Linked DNA regions of Homo sapiens: regions 1 and 2 are each linked to region 3. The links are contacts of gene promoters, found by promoter capture Hi-C in blood cells and fetal thymus (Javierre and others, 2016). All regions are on one chromosome and are shown on one strand. The core of a region is centred on a gene start or on the middle of the fragment in contact, and the rest is flanking DNA. Distances in the headings are between cores, read along the strand shown.

Region 1 (3,193 bases), core at 258-2,757, 530 kb before region 3:
CTGGGGTTACAGGTGTGAGTCACCATACCCGGCCCACTCCCTCTTTTTTCAGAGAAAAAACTGGAACCTGAATGAGTGACCTTGTAAGTGAGTTGCTGGCAGTTTCTACCTTTGCAGAGACCAAGTTCTTCCATCTACATGGCCTTGTGTTGTCCTCCCAATACCCCAAGGCATGGATGTTTTCTTCATATTTCACATGAGGGAGGTGACTGTCTCAGAGAGGTACAGTGAGCAGACCAAAGTCTCAGAGCGTGAAGGGCTCAGCTTGAGTCCCTGCCCAGGGTGCTGTCAACCCGGAGGCTAGAAGAGCTTGTTCCTTGACAAAGCCTCAGATCTGAGTGCCCTGGGTTCCCCCTGGGCCATGACTTGGTTCCTTACATTGCTCTGTGTTGCAGAATTCATGCTGGACTGCACCGTGCCTCCCCCAGGGAGTGCAAAGATAGCCCTTGGAGGGGAATGATGGAGGAGGAGGCAATCAGGTAATGAGAGGCCATTCTGAGCTTGTGGGAATGTAGTGCCCCTGGTGAGGCTACAGGAAGAAAGTGAGCATCCCTGGGAATCTCACATGAGGAAGGCGAGACCAAATCCCTGTACTTACAAAATGATCTAGGAAATATGCCTCAGTTGGCAGGCATGATGACTTCTGAGCCCTTGTGTTTGATTCTGTAGAAGAAAAATATTTTCAAATATTAACTAGTGAAGTTTTACTTTTAGAGATATATATTTTTCTTTCAATTACTTCCACCATTAATATTAGACCATGAAGCTCATTTCTCTTGCCATAGGGAAGGCAGAACCTCAAAAAACTCAATGACACCAAAGAGTTATATTTATGCTTCTGCATTCCAATGTAGAGCATTGAAAGATGTGGAATTTAATTGCAAGGGCTAGTCTCTTCAAAGAGAAGTGGTTGCCTAATCCCCAAAATTCACAGCAATTATGTTGGCAAGTAATGTTTTAAAGCTTACATGGATTGTCTATTTTAACCTCACTATTATTGTTCCAGTCTTAAGGATGAGGAAGTTGATGCCCAGAGAGAGGTTAATTAGCTTGTCTAAGATCACTTAAGGTCACTTAGCTAAGAAGCCAGGATTTGAGCCCAGGTGTTTGGCTTTGAGCCCATGCTTAATCACTCTGCACATTATCTCATGCTGGGTATTCTGCTCATGGTAGGGAATACAGCAGGGAACAAGACTGCCAGGCTTCCCTCAAAGGGCTCATTGGTTGAGTCTTCCACTGTGAGTCTTTTGAAATTTCATATGGGCCTTGCAAAGCAGGAAAAAACAAGAGTACTTATTTTACTCATGAGAAAAAGAAAGTAAAAAAGAGGGAATTGTCTTACTCAAGGTCATAGAAAGACATAGTTGCAAGATGGGATTAGAAACCATATGTCTCATCAGCACCCTATGTCCTTTCTCTGCCCTGGGAGCACACTCCATTTAGCAGGCTTGCGGCTAGTGTTAATGTCTGGACAATTAATCAAAACTTCCTTTGGGCTGGATCTCCAGAGCCCAAGAACACTGGTGGCCAAAGGATGGTGTCTTGTGAAAGGAGGGCAAGCAAAAGTGTAGGACAAATTTTGCTTTGGGATTTTGGTTACACCTGCAGGTACAGTGTCCCTGGGATAAGGGTGGATTCTGGGTCGGGGGAAGGTCTGTGGATAAAGGCATTTGTGGGTGTGTTCAGAGAGGCAGAGTCAGAAATTCACGGATATGGTGATGGGATGTGGTGATTGGGAGGGGAGGAGGGCTTTTCTAATCAGGACTTTTATGGAAATTATCCTTGGTCAAGAGAAGGGGCATGTTGGCAACATGGCCACCAAGGAAAAAAAAAAAAAAGGAGAGATCCAGCACAGTTGCTGGTAAGGGACTCTTCTGCTGGGCTCCCACCAGCAGCTCTAGGATCAGACCTGGATATGAGATATCTCTTACCTGTTGCGCTTTTGAAATGTTTCTGATGAACAGACTATCCCACAGAAGGAGGAACAGCACTGAAATCCTTTCTCGCAATCTTCCTGCATTGTACACAGGTGAGTACAGTTTTCAGGTGCTGATATGCAGGGTGGAGGTTCCAAGATATACTCTGGAACACAGAACAAGTAAGAGAAGGGCCTCACCAACAGGCTGGAGTAATGTTCAGAACTCAGAAAGCCCAGGGAACTGCCAGGAAACCTGCCACCCTCATCTGCCTTGCATGGTTCCAGGGTGGTGGCATCAGGTTTTGTCCTCAGCTGCTGCCTTCCTCTGAGTTCTGAGCAGGGAAGCAGGGCATGGATATTTTTTGATCAAGAACAGAGTTTGGTAGAACCCTGCACCCATTGGTCATTCACCATCCTTGTAGTTCAGATGCCAAGCCCCCATTGACTATGGTTGTGTCCATATCAAGGGTATCAATGGTGTATGTGGTGAACAAGAAAGAGGTTTGTATGTTCGTTCTGCACTGATTCATTGTGTGGTCTTGAGCAAGTTGTAGAGCTTCTCATTAACAACATAGTTTACCCTGGGGTTAACCTAACATGGGTTATTTGTGTACAGGAAGAATGAGTGAAAGGTAAGTTTTGGTAAAGGATGAAGACCATGCATTAAACTGAAGGTACTGGATCAGAGAGCTGGGACCCAATTCACAAGTAAGTTCTGGGAGTGACTTCTTTCATGGTAAGAAGGGTGGGGATTTCAGAATGGCGTTCAAAGATTCAGCTTTTTTCTTCCTTGGTGTCTCTCGATCAGGAGGCCAGAGCACCAGGATGCCCCACTTTCTACTGTTAGAGAAGAATAAGCATCATTATGTTGACTTCCTATTTCCTCCCCTACCCCCAAGTATTTCAGTTCAAAGCTAAGACCTACCTGCCCTGGGAGAGTCTTCCCTAAGTCCACAACCCACAATCTCCTTTCTATTCCTGGACTCTAAAGATGGGCCCCATTAATCCCTTTCCCCAAGCCCTTCCAGGTCCTAATTTTTGTACCTTGTGATTCTCCCTTTCTTTGGGGGCAAAAGTCAAAAGTGGGGCATTCTATTGCAAATAGAGGAATTGTGGGTCTATTCCTCTGCAAATATTTGCAATTAGAAGGAAATCTATAGGATATTATGATGATTTGAAAGGAATGAATGAAGAAAGAGGTCATGACTATAACTGTAGTAGCAAATGGCACCAGAATTGGGGTAAAAGAAGCTGAGGTTCAAGCTGTTGACAATT
Region 2 (2,741 bases), core at 144-2,643, 550 kb before region 3:
CTTGGAGTTAGAGTTGCTTGGAAATGTTGCCCTTGCACAATGCAAATTGGTTAAAATTCCAGGTTGTTGTCGTGAGCAGTGTATTGGAGAAGGAGAAGTAGTGATCAGTGAAAAAGGAGGTTCCACCACTAGCTTGTGCAGGGCGATGAGCTTCCCTACATTTCCTATCTTACAGTTTATTAAAGTACAGTATCCTCCTGCTTCCCCACATCATCTTCCTTTCCTTTTAATTGCCCACATAGGACATGCAATTCAGAGTGCCTCCTCCCCAGTTTCATACATTCACTATACTACCTATACTTCAAAATTTAAGTAACCATGGCTGCTGCTATCTTTAAAGCAGGATGCATACTAAAATGCTAAAATGCATAACCTTGGGGTGATGCTCGTTCATCCTCATACCCCGTCATCTTCTCCTTTCTTGCCTTCTCAGAGGCAAACCCTCTGTTTTTATTGTTAAGAGTTGGGTAGTAAGTGGTTGGAACAGCCACAATCATGGTTGTATTGACAATCCACCTTACTCAAGCAGCCAGCCTGGAATTTACTCTCTGGTAAAGTTATGTGCATAATCTTATTTCATACTCACAAACACCCTCTGCAGCAGGCACTTTTCTGATCTTCATTTTACACATGGGGAAACTGAGACTAAGAGAATAATAAGTGGTTGAGTGACTTGTCCAAGGGCACATATCTGCTAAGTGAACAGGTCCAGAACTTGAAGTGTCTGACTTACGGTATAAACTGTGCTACTTTCTCGTCCCCTGGAAGCGCTGAGCCTTCACACACTATCTATGGAAGAAAGTCTCATTGCCTCTCACATTTACATTGTGAGCTCCTCTAAACAGGAATCATCTGTCCAAGAGTTCTGTATATGTCCATAGCCCAGATACTGAAAATGTCTTAATTTGCTCTGTCTCCAACCCCCTTTCTCTCTCATCCCAATACATAATCATCAATGGTCTGGGATCTTTGAAATTTGTCACACAACCTCTGATTCAAAATACTTCCAGTCCTTTGGACCTCCTATAAAAGAGGTCTCCATCTGGAAAGGACTTTGTGTCATTTCTGTTTTTTCTCATCAAACATCCAGAGGACCCCTAGTGTAAGTAATGCCCTGAGTCAAGGGACTAAGTGTCTATGGGTATTGTCATGAAAGGAAGACCTTCCTGGACTACCTAGATAACACACTTTTCTCCCAATACCTTCTCTCTCATTCATAATTGACCTTTGGATTTATTTTCTGCCTTAGCTTCATACCTTTGAGGTCTCCACATATCTTCTCCGCAATTTTATTAACACCACCCAATAACAGGGTATTCAATGAGCAGAAGATGAAGAATCTTAGAAGAAATCCCAGCTTGGCAGACTTCATGGTGCAGCAAGCAGCAGGCAGGATAGTTGTGGTATCACCTGATGTTATATTTTGGGCTTGATACTTGAGACGGTTGAGCTCACCTACCCCAAGGGCCAGGACTGGACATTACTAGGTGTTGAGTTGAACAGTGAGTGCTTGGGTACCCAGCCATGAAGCTGAAGGCCCCAAACTGATTAGACCCTTGATAGTGAGTCCCATGTTCATCTAGAAGCAATAGAAACTTAAGGATCAGAGCTTCTGCATATATTTAATCATGAAGGGTAGAATCATCAGAGTGAGGAATTAAAAAGGGATTTCTTCCTTTCTCTTTTTGACCTTTTATGCACAGAAGAAACTAATCATGGCACAAGAGAAAGAGTGCAATAGCACTATAATAATAGTAACAGGGTTAGTTATAACCTAGAGTACTACTTAATTCCAGGTGCTATTTTTAAGTAATTTGTATATACTTTATCATCATATACACCCTATGAAGTAAGTACAGTTATTACCATCATTTAAGGATGAAATGGAGACAGAGATTAGGTTACATGTACAAGGTCACTCATTTATTATGTGGTAGAGACAAGATTTGAACTTGGCTTCAGAGTTTTTGTTCTTAGTCACACTACACTATGTTATCTAGGAACATGAGGACATCTTGGATCTGTTTTCTCCTAAAAGTTTTGAAGTTTTGGCTTACCTTTACACCCTAAAACCACCTGATGTTGATTTTTTGGTAAGGTATAACATAAGGATCCTTTTTCATTTTTCAGTGGTTCCAGACCTATTTATTAATGAGTTCCTCTTCTATTTAACTGCAAAATAATTTTGCTTAATTATGTGGGATTGCTTCTGAGCCCTTTATTTCACTCCACTGTATACCCCCACTCCAAAGCCACACTTAATCTCTTGAACTTTGTTTATCTTAGGATTTTGTATTTTCATATAAATTTTAGTCAGTTTATCAAGTTATTCAAAAGACCTGTTTCGGGCCAGGCGTGGTGGCTCATGCCTGTAATCCCAGCACTTTGGGAGGCTGAGGTGGGTGAATCCCATGAGGTCAGGAGTTGGAGACCAGCCTGGTCAACATGGCAAAACCCCGTCTCTACTAAAAATACAAAAATTAGCTGGTTATGGTGGTGAGTTCCTGTAATCTCAGCTACTTGGGAGGCTGCGGCATGAGAATTGCTTGAACTGGGAGGCAGAGGTTGTAGTGAGCTGAGACTGTGCCATTGCACTCCAGCCTGGGTGACAGAGCAAGACTCTGACCGAAAACGAAAACAAAAACAAAAACAAAAACAAAACACCTATTTTGGATATTCATTTGAATTGCACTGGATCTACAAATCAATTGGAAAAGAATGATATCCTTATAATATTGTCT
Region 3 (2,847 bases), core at 321-2,820:
GAAGAATGGACAGTGTGGGAAGGGGAAGGGCAGCAGGGACTTAGGACCAGATGGGGCCTGTAGCTCTGGGGACGGCACAGGTGCAGCAAGGACCGGCTCCCTCTGTGGAAGAGAAGAGTATCAGAGGTGAGAGTCAGCACATCAAAGCACTCAGAGGCAGTGAGGAAGACAGATCATCCTTCTAGGCACTCTGGTTATAGCCTCTCAGACCCCTCAGTCTCCCAGTCTTTCTGTCACCTCCCACAACCTCCCTCCCACCAACCTGGGATGCTTCCCCACCGCTCAGCCTTCTTTTGTGTCTTCAGGGGTCTCCTCGTTCTCCAGCTAGTGCTCACCTCACTGGGGAACGAAACAGGCCATCCCGCAAGAGCCTTCACAGCACTTCTTGATTCCTGGGCAGTCAGTATCTTTCAAGCAGCGGTTAGGGGGATTCAACATGGCGCACCGGATCAAGATAATGGGGCAGGAGCCAGGCTTAGTGGAGACTGGACCTTTGACTGGCTCTTGCGCTTTGACTTTATCTTGACCTTTAACTGAAACTTGTCCTTTAACGGGATCTTGTCCATTGAATGGAACACGGCCTTTGACAGTGTCTTGACCTTTAACAGGAACTGTTAAAAGAAGAAACGAGCCCACATTTATACCCAGTAAGCCTCTGCTTCAGCTGCCATGTCTTTCCTCTGGGTCTGGGTCCATCCACTGCTTACTGCAGCATCCTCAAACCATGGCCTGAGTAGGGAAGGTACACCTCTGGGAGCTACACTCTTGGAAGGCTCTTCCTTTTTTGGGGTGGTCTACTGGACCAGAGTTCCCTTGAGTATTTGTTTCTTCCCCCTTCCTCCACTCCAAGTCTCTCAGGAGCAGTGGTCAGACTGGGGTGACACCCAGCAGTGAAGAGGACACATTGTCATTTGTTAGGAAGTGCATTGGAGTAGGAAAGAACCCTGAGCCACATACTAGGAGACTTGAGCCCCATCCTGGCTCTGGGAATTACCTTGGCAATTGCTCACTCATTTCTACATTTTTGGTTCCCTCCTTATAAAATGGGGGTCCTCAAACAACATGATTCCTGAAGGCTTGTTGTTTCTTAACCTCCTTTTAGAGTACTGATTACTCCAGTGCTTTTATGGGGCAGAGAAACGGGGGACTGTGTCCACACCCAAGGTTTAAAATCCTGGAGTTCATTATTTTATTGCACATTCTGCACAGGTATTGACATCTGAGGCCAAGGCCACATACCAACATTACTTCCACAAACAGTCCTGATATCTCAGTCACTGAGGTGGAAAGCACGTGGAGTCCACCAGCCAAAGTCCTATTTTTTCTGAATATGATGGCAAAGAACAGAAAGCTGAAATCTGGGCTCCAGTGCTGCCTACTGCTTCAGAAGTGCTCCCTGTCCTGGCCCAGGGTGTCCCAGAGGGTCTCCCCTTAGTCCAACCCAGCCCAGCAGGTCACCTGTTCACTCACCTCCCGTGACAGCTGCCTCTAGAACCAGCGTCCCAGCGATGAGGAACACCACCACGATCAAGAAGCTGCTGGCCCTCATGGTGTCAGGAAGGTGTTTGGCTAAGAGCTAAGGCCATACCAATCTTTATGCAGTCCAGCTTGGCCTGGCTCCAGGGGCGGGTCTGTGGTATTTACAAGGGATAATTCCTTAGCTGTATTGGGAAATATCCACCCCATTCTGGGAGGGACCTGGGGGCTTTCCCTCAGGATTATTCACAGGAAGAACTAATGGACATTACATCACATCATCTCTGATTGTCCCAAGAGTTTTCCTACTTTCTCACAGAGTAGAAGTGCTGGCTCACTTATTAGGTAACATTACAATGAAATTCTTCATGTTTTGAAATACAGTGAGACCCAAGAAGAGAAAGGAATCACCGAAGGTTATTCAGCAAGTCACTGGTAGATCCAGTCTTGATTACAAAACCAAGGTGTTTCTCCATTATGCTCTGGTGCTACAAACCCCACCCAGATCTACTTTATCATTTTACCACTCCCAGCATCAAACTGGGCATTTCCTTCCTTCTTCCCTGGTCCTGCAAAAAACTCTGTAAGACAAATTTGCCTTGAATACATAATGACTAATTATTGCACTTTGCTGTTTCAGAGACGGCCTTTCAGATGCATCAAGAAAGTAATTGGAAGGTGGAATTCTAGGTCTGAAGAGGGATGATGCCCTTGAAATCACAGTGGTAGGGAGAAAATAATCAGAAAGTAGTAGAAAACATGTATCATGTATACATTGGACATCTACAGTGTGTGTGTCCAGCATGCCTCCCCACTTCTTTGAACAGCACCCTGTTTCTTGTGAAGAATTGTTGTCTCTTTGAACCATCAACTTGTGAGTCTAATGGGGACTGCTAATCATGAAAGCCTGACCCCTGACCACAGGTAGGGGTGTGTGTGTGTGTGTGTGTGTGTGAGTGTGTGTGTGTGTGTTGTGTGTGAGACTTGGTCTGGTCTATTAACATATTTTATTTGAATGAGTAATGAAAGGGGAAAACGGGGGTTCCTTCTTCTGGAAAAGGTGATATATATGAACCAGGGAATTCCAGAAGTGGTTATCTAAGTCTGGGGGTGGAGATCAATTGTCTGAGAAAAACGACTCTAATACACTGAGACAAGGAGAGAAGTGATGGTGAGAGAAGATTCAGATGACACAGCCAGGTTTCCCTCCTTTACCTTGAGAGCAGTTCTTCACACACCCTTCTCATGGTTGGGTTATGAGGCAATAAATTAGCCCTCTGCTTCAGCTAGTCTGACTTACTATTCTGTCATTGTTACCAAAAGTTCTGAGTAATAGAAATGAATATCCTGAAGTTGGGTATTGTCAGGGAC

The links. Contacts are between HindIII fragments. The CHiCAGO score rates a contact against its expected background, and 5 or more counts as called.
Region 1: the fragment with the promoter of WFDC10B here is called in contact with the fragment with the promoter of PI3 in region 3 in 8 of 17 cell types (M1 macrophages, M0 macrophages, naive CD8 T cells and 5 more); the score reaches 12.4 in M1 macrophages.
Region 2: a contact is called between the fragment with the promoter of SPINT4 here and the fragment with the promoter of PI3 in region 3, in 5 of 17 cell types (M1 macrophages, M0 macrophages, total CD8 T cells and 2 more). The highest score is 10.6, in M1 macrophages.

Annotation. Positions count from the first base shown.
Region 1 is chr20:45,703,333-45,706,525 of GRCh38, reverse strand. WFDC10B (WAP four-disulfide core domain 10B) reads left to right here and starts at 1,507. Exons shown (of 4, transcript NM_172006.2): 1 at 1,507-1,608; 2 at 1,965-2,029. WFDC13 (WAP four-disulfide core domain 13) reads right to left here. Exons shown (of 4, transcript NM_172005.2): 2 at 1,932-2,082; 3 at 599-663. The coding sequence ends at 621. MIR3617 (microRNA 3617) reads left to right here and starts at 1,346; the gene lies at 1,346-1,424. The HindIII fragment of the contact is 3,233 bases long and covers 966-3,193 here.
Region 2 is chr20:45,720,999-45,723,739 of GRCh38, reverse strand. It overlaps SPINT4 (serine peptidase inhibitor, Kunitz type 4), which reads right to left and starts at 1,393. Exons shown (of 3, transcript NM_178455.3): 1 at 1,258-1,393. The coding sequence starts at 1,372. The HindIII fragment of the contact is 5,556 bases long and covers 1-2,741 here.
Region 3 is chr20:45,173,625-45,176,471 of GRCh38, reverse strand. It overlaps PI3 (peptidase inhibitor 3), which reads right to left and starts at 1,570. Exons shown (of 3, transcript NM_002638.4): 1 at 1,471-1,570; 2 at 336-611; 3 at 1-102. The coding sequence starts at 1,549. The coding sequence ends at 337. RefSeq lists an enhancer at 781-1,980. The HindIII fragment of the contact is 9,599 bases long and covers 1-2,847 here.